Linked DNA regions of Homo sapiens: region 1 is linked to region 2. The links are contacts of gene promoters, found by promoter capture Hi-C in human tissues and cell types (Jung and others, 2019). All regions are on one chromosome and are shown on one strand. The core of a region is centred on a gene start or on the middle of the fragment in contact, and the rest is flanking DNA. Distances in the headings are between cores, read along the strand shown.

What was found. Contacts are between HindIII fragments. The study calls those that stand out against the background at their distance.
Region 1: the fragment with the promoter of GRIK3 here is called in contact with the fragment with the promoter of OSCP1 in region 2 in 2 of the 25 tissues and cell types used here (mesendoderm cells and thymus).

What each region holds. Positions count from the first base shown.
Region 1 is chr1:37,033,119-37,035,818 of GRCh38, reverse strand. GRIK3 (glutamate ionotropic receptor kainate type subunit 3) reads left to right here and starts at 1,304. Exons shown (of 16, transcript NM_000831.4): 1 at 1,304-1,825. The coding sequence starts at 1,711. RefSeq lists enhancers at 53-613, 614-1,175, 1,750-2,649, 2,650-2,700. The HindIII fragment of the contact is 18,806 bases long and covers 1-2,700 here.
Region 2 is chr1:36,449,181-36,451,880 of GRCh38, reverse strand. OSCP1 (organic solute carrier partner 1) reads left to right here and starts at 1,430. Exons shown (of 10, transcript NM_145047.5): 1 at 1,430-1,623. The coding sequence starts at 1,512. LOC107984940 (a long non-coding RNA gene) reads right to left here. Exons shown (of 3, transcript XR_001737976.2): 3 at 2,316-2,423. RefSeq lists a silencer at 1,035-1,304. The HindIII fragment of the contact is 9,579 bases long and covers 1-2,700 here.

The DNA of each region.
Region 1 (2,700 bases), core at 55-2,554, 580 kb before region 2:
GGGCCTCTGCACCCAGACAGGGAGGGGAAAAAAGAGGGAAATTAACAGGCGGGTGAGAGCTCGGCTCATAGAATATTTGTAAGAAAATTAAAGATTTGCTCTTCAGATGTTGGGGGCCATGCTCTTACCAGACAGCTGGCAAATGGGAAAGATTGGAAATGATAGAATAGATCAAATTATTTAAATGAGAAAAATAAATTCACACACAGCCTAGCCGCTGCCCGGTGACAGATCCGTTTATTTATCTACTGTATCGGCACCGCTTTGTCTCTGTCAAAAAGGTCATTAAACTCGCCTAACTGAGTAATTCGCAGCCTCCTGCTCCAGCCTCGCTCCACAGCCTTTCCCTTCCCTCACACCCAGCGCCACTTGAAAAAAAATTATTATTGCTAATAAACAACGTTGTTTTTCTTTTTAACCCCTTTAGCTTGCTCCCCCACGGATCCTACTCCATCCCACGACAAATTACAGTTTCTCTTTATTCTTTCTCAGGAGAATGAGGGAGGGGGCACCAGCCCTTCCTGCACAGTTACGGGAGAGGGCTGAGAGGGAGCGGGCCCGGCGCCCACGCCCCCCTACATCTAAGGCGTGAGCGGTCTTCCTCCTCCGCAGCCCCAGGACCTGTGCGCGGTCAAGTCCAGCTTCCCACAGCAGGGGGTCTGACTTGGGCTCTCCCACCTCTACCAACTCCCTCAGCTCCCCTGGCCCAGCGTAGACAATTCGCTTTGAATTCTGCCTCTCCGAACCCCCAGCCCCAACTCTGCTGCCAGGAGGAATGGGGTTGGGGAGGGAAGCCGGTTCCCGGGTCAGTCTCCCGCTGCCACCGCCGTCCAGCCAGCGCCCGCCGCGTGGGAGCCGCGAGGCCAGGCTCCGCAGACGGCGGGCTCCCGGTCTCGCTGCTCCCGGCGGGCGCGTCTCCTCCAGCTGGTCCGGCCGCTGGGCTGCCGCCGTCTCCCAGCTCGCGGTGCCAGCTCTCGCGCTCCACGCCTGGCTCCCGGGCTCCGTGCCCTCGCAGTAGAAGGGACTGGGGCCGGCGGGGCGGGTGGGGACGTCTGGGAAGCGAGGAGAGTCCTCGTTCTCCGGGCGTCCCCCTACAATGGGGCCAGGGTCCCCTTCCCCGCCCCCCGCGCAGGTGTGAGCGCGCGAGTGTGCGCCTCGGCAAGTGTGAGTGTGAAGTGTGTGTGCGCGGGGGAGTGCGCGGAGGGAGCGCGGGCGGCGGGCGGCGCGGGAGGCGGGAGGCAGGGCGCAGGGGAGGGGGCTGGGAGGGAGAGTGTGCGCGCGTGCAACTCCACTCCGGGGCTTTGTGCGAGCCCGGGCGATAGCATCGGCGGCGGCTGGAGGAGGAGCGGCCGGAGACGCGTGCAGCCCGCCCGCCAGAGCCCGGCAGCCGGGGCAGGTGGGAGCCCGCGCGGGAGCCGAGCCGACGCGAGTCGGAGCCGGAGCCGAGTCCGAGCGGAGTCCGGGCGGAGCCCAGGAGCCTCGCTCGCGGGCAGCCCGTGGGCGGCAGCCAGGCGGGGCGGGCGCCGGCGGGGCGGCCCCCCAGTAAGATGTGCGCGGCGCCGCGGGGCGCCCCCCACTTGCAGCGGCGCTCGGGAGCCGGGCGGCTGGGCCAGGCGGCGCCTTCGGGGCTGCTGCGCGCCCGCGCCTAGAGCTGCCGCCCCAGGGAGCCCGCCACGGCCGCGCCCCGGGCACGCTCGGCGGCGCCCAACGATGACCGCTCCCTGGCGGCGCCTCCGGAGTCTGGTTTGGGAATACTGGGCCGGGCTCCTCGTGTGCGCCTTCTGGATCCCGGACTCGCGCGGGATGCCCCACGTCATCCGGATCGGTAAGCGCTCCCTGGAGCCGGGGGTCTCCGTGCGCCCGGGAGGGGGCGGGAATGAGGGGGCCTCCCAACGCGTTCCGGAGAGATTTTCCTAACCTCTCTCCGAGCTGCTGAGCCGATCGGTGACCACCAGGAGCTCCTCCCTGTGAGGACAAAGTTCCAGAGTCGGGGTCACGGGCCTTACTTATTGGGGAGGAGGCCGCCGGGCCGCAGTGGGCGAGGGGCCCTTGGCGCGCTCCTGGGAGGTCAGACCTGGCACAGTGTGGCGAAGGTTTCCAGTGCGATCCCGAGTCGAGGGCGCATTTCGCGGTGACTGCCAGCATGAACCGCAGCCGACCGAGTTCTGCGATCGGGCTTCTCCGCAGAGTGGGGACCCTGGGGAAGGCGCCAACTTCTCTCCTCTGCCCACCTCACTCCCCGCGGGCCCTTCGTCCCCACCTCTGGCATAGCTCGAGCAGCCGCAGCGAGGTCGCAGGGCACAGATTCGCATGACGAGGGCAGCCGGTCTTCTCTCCTGGTGGTCGCCCTTGGCCTCGGTGGTACCGGTTCAGCCCCGTGCCATGGGGCGGGGGTTGGGGGAGCAGGACCCCGCTGCCCGCTGCAGCTGGTCCCTCGGGGCCAAGGCCTCTCTCCCGCCTGGGGCAGTGCAGGTAGAGGGAAGGGACGATGGAGGCCGCCCAGTGCGGCCCGGGCAGGCGGCCCAGGGACGCCAGCGGTTTTTAAAGTTAGCCCGAATTCCTCCGCAGCTGGCGGCGGCTGGCGGGGCTGCGCGCGGCTTTCCGGGGCTCCGGCTTCTCCGCGTCTCTTCTCGCCGGAGACTCTTACTCCGGTCTTTAACTTTGTTGTGGCCGCCCAAGGCACCCTGCAGGCCTGAGCGC
Region 2 (2,700 bases), core at 181-2,680:
ACAAGAGTGAAACTCCATCTCAAAAAAAAAAAAGTGATGTCTTCTGACATTTAGCTTAGCAGCCAGTGCAAGGTAGAAGAGAGAAAAGAACAGTGATACAGAGGAACATAGCAATGCAGACAGAAAAACAAATGAAGGGATGAATGTAAGAAAGGTGTTGGAGGAAAAAGCATAATATGATGACTGATAAAAGACCCTGGGAAACAGATTTGGAAGCCAAGGCCCAAGTTTCAAGTTTGAGTAGCTGGAGGGAAAGATAATTAGTAGGTTTTGGAAGTACTGAAATTTACAGAAATGGTTGTTCATCAGAGTAAAAATATACAGCAGATGGCAAAAAGTAATCCTGGAGCTTAAGATGGAGGTAAGGAAGGGAGTCGCTGCCCTCAAAGAGAAATGGTTGGGGCCGGGCGTGATAGCTCACGCCTGTAATCTCAGCACTTTGGGAGGCCCAGGCGGGCAGATCACCTGAGGTCAGGAGTTCCAGACCAGCCTGGCCAACATGGTGAAACCCCGTCTCTACTAAAAATACAAAAATTAGCCGGGCATGGTGGCGGGCGCCTGTAATCCCAGCTACTCGGGAGGCTGAGGCAGGAGAATCGCTTGAACCCTGAAGGCGGAAGTTGCAATGAGCCGAGATGGCGCCACTGCACTCCAGCCTGAGCGACAAGGGCAAAATCCGTCTCAAAAAAAAAAAAAAAAGAAAAAAGAAATGGTTGGGAGGCCTTCGGAACAGCGTCGAGGAGGGAACTTCCCAGAGCCCCCAGGCGCATCCTCTGGGAACTGGACACACGGGGACGGACGGGACTGGTTTGCTTCATGGAGTATGAAACCAGGAGGGGCTTCACTTCAAGTAAACTTTTGGGAGGCGATGCAAACGACTCAGGACTTCTGATCCTTCCCTCGTCTAAAAGAAAAGTCAGTTACCATTTTTATTGAGTGCTTTCGGGGCCTTTCCATGATCTGACTGATTCCTCTCAGCCGCCCTGTGATGTGAGTGCCAGCTCCATGTTACGTAAGAGGAAGCCAAGGCTCAAACCCTGCCCGAAGTCACACAGCAAGAAATCACGAGCCGTGATTCCAACCCAGGTCCGTCTGACCCGAGCCTGCTCTAATGCCGTTCTGCCTGGGCTTTCCTCTGTTATAGGAACCTGAGGCCCCGCGCCAGCGGCCGGGGTCCCAAGCGCCGGGCTGGCTGTGTCGAGACCACCCCCAGCCCTGGCCCGGCCCTCGCCCTTTCGAGGGAAACCTACTCTCAGAAGCACAGCTCCCCAGCCGCGCCCAACGCCGCGCCGGCCTCTGGCTCGGACCAATCCCCCCGGGACGGTCCACCACCCAGACCAATTAGCTCCCGTCTTCAGGGCACCTCCCACCAAACCGCCTTCTGATTGGCTCGCTCTTCCCGTCACGGCGTTGCCCCAGCAACCGGACTATTGGGACGCTGCGGCCTGGCCTTCAGGCCACTGGCTACCGAACCCCGGGGCTCTTCACCAGTCCAGCTCGTTTCCAGCACCATGTCGGTGCGGACGCTACCGCTGCTCTTCTTGAACTTGGGCGGGGAGATGCTTTACATCCTCGACCAACGGCTGCGGGCCCAGAACATCCCGGGAGACAAGGCCCGCAAAGGTGAGAGGCCCCCGGCCCGCTCAGCCAGACCCGCAGCCAGCAGCCCGGCCCTCTCATCATCGCCCTAACACCCACAGCCAGACCCGCACCCCTACACACTTCACTCTTATAACCAGGGACCTTTCTTACAAGCCACATCCATTTGGAGCCCCTCGGGAGTCAAATCCCCCCAAAAGCTTTTTTCACAGCAGAGGAACTTAATACTCCCAGTGGACACTAGGGTGCCTGACCTCCCTAATTTCCCCATCTCTTCAAATGGGAGAGGTGATTTCCCAGTCTCTCTTGTCAATCAGTGCCTTCCAAATGTAGGAGTCCCAGCTGCCCACCATCTAGTATCATACCCCTTGCTAGTCCAAGCATCCTCTTTACCCCCAAGGAACAGGTTCTGATTTTTTTTTTTTTTTTTTTTTTTTTTTTTTTTTGAGACAGGGTCTCGCTCTGTCGCCCAGGCTGGAGTGTGTGGCACGATCTCGGCTCACTGCAACCTCTGCCTCCTGGGTTCCAGCGATTCTCGTGCCTCAGCCTCCCAAGTAGCTGGGATTACAGGCATGCACCACCACACCCAGCTAATTTTTGTATTTTTAGTAGAGATGGGGTTTCACCATGTTTCCCAGGCTGGTCTTCAATTCCTGGACTCAAACGATCTGCCCCCCTCGGCCTCCCAAAGTGCTGGGATTATAGGCGTGAGCCACCGCGTCCAGCCCAGGTTCAGATTCTTAATTTCTTTATGGTAGTATCTTCCCACATAAGCTGGAGATTGGTCTTACTCATCTCAGAAGTATTTCTAGAAATTTGGTGTTCTAAAATAATATAGATAAATATGAAAAAAATAAGAAAGTTATAAATCTCCTCACAAGTGTTGGAGGGGAATACAATTGTGAAAATAATTATATGAGAGCTTCGAAAATGCAAAATCTGCCTCCCATGGACACCACACTAATCCCCAGAAAAATGACGACTCAGAACACTCTGCCACTCTGTTCCTTTTCCTCTTTTCCTCCCTTCTCGGCAAACAACTTGCTTATACCAAATTTCCTAGGATTAAGTATGAAGGAAATATTATATTTCAAAGTGGAG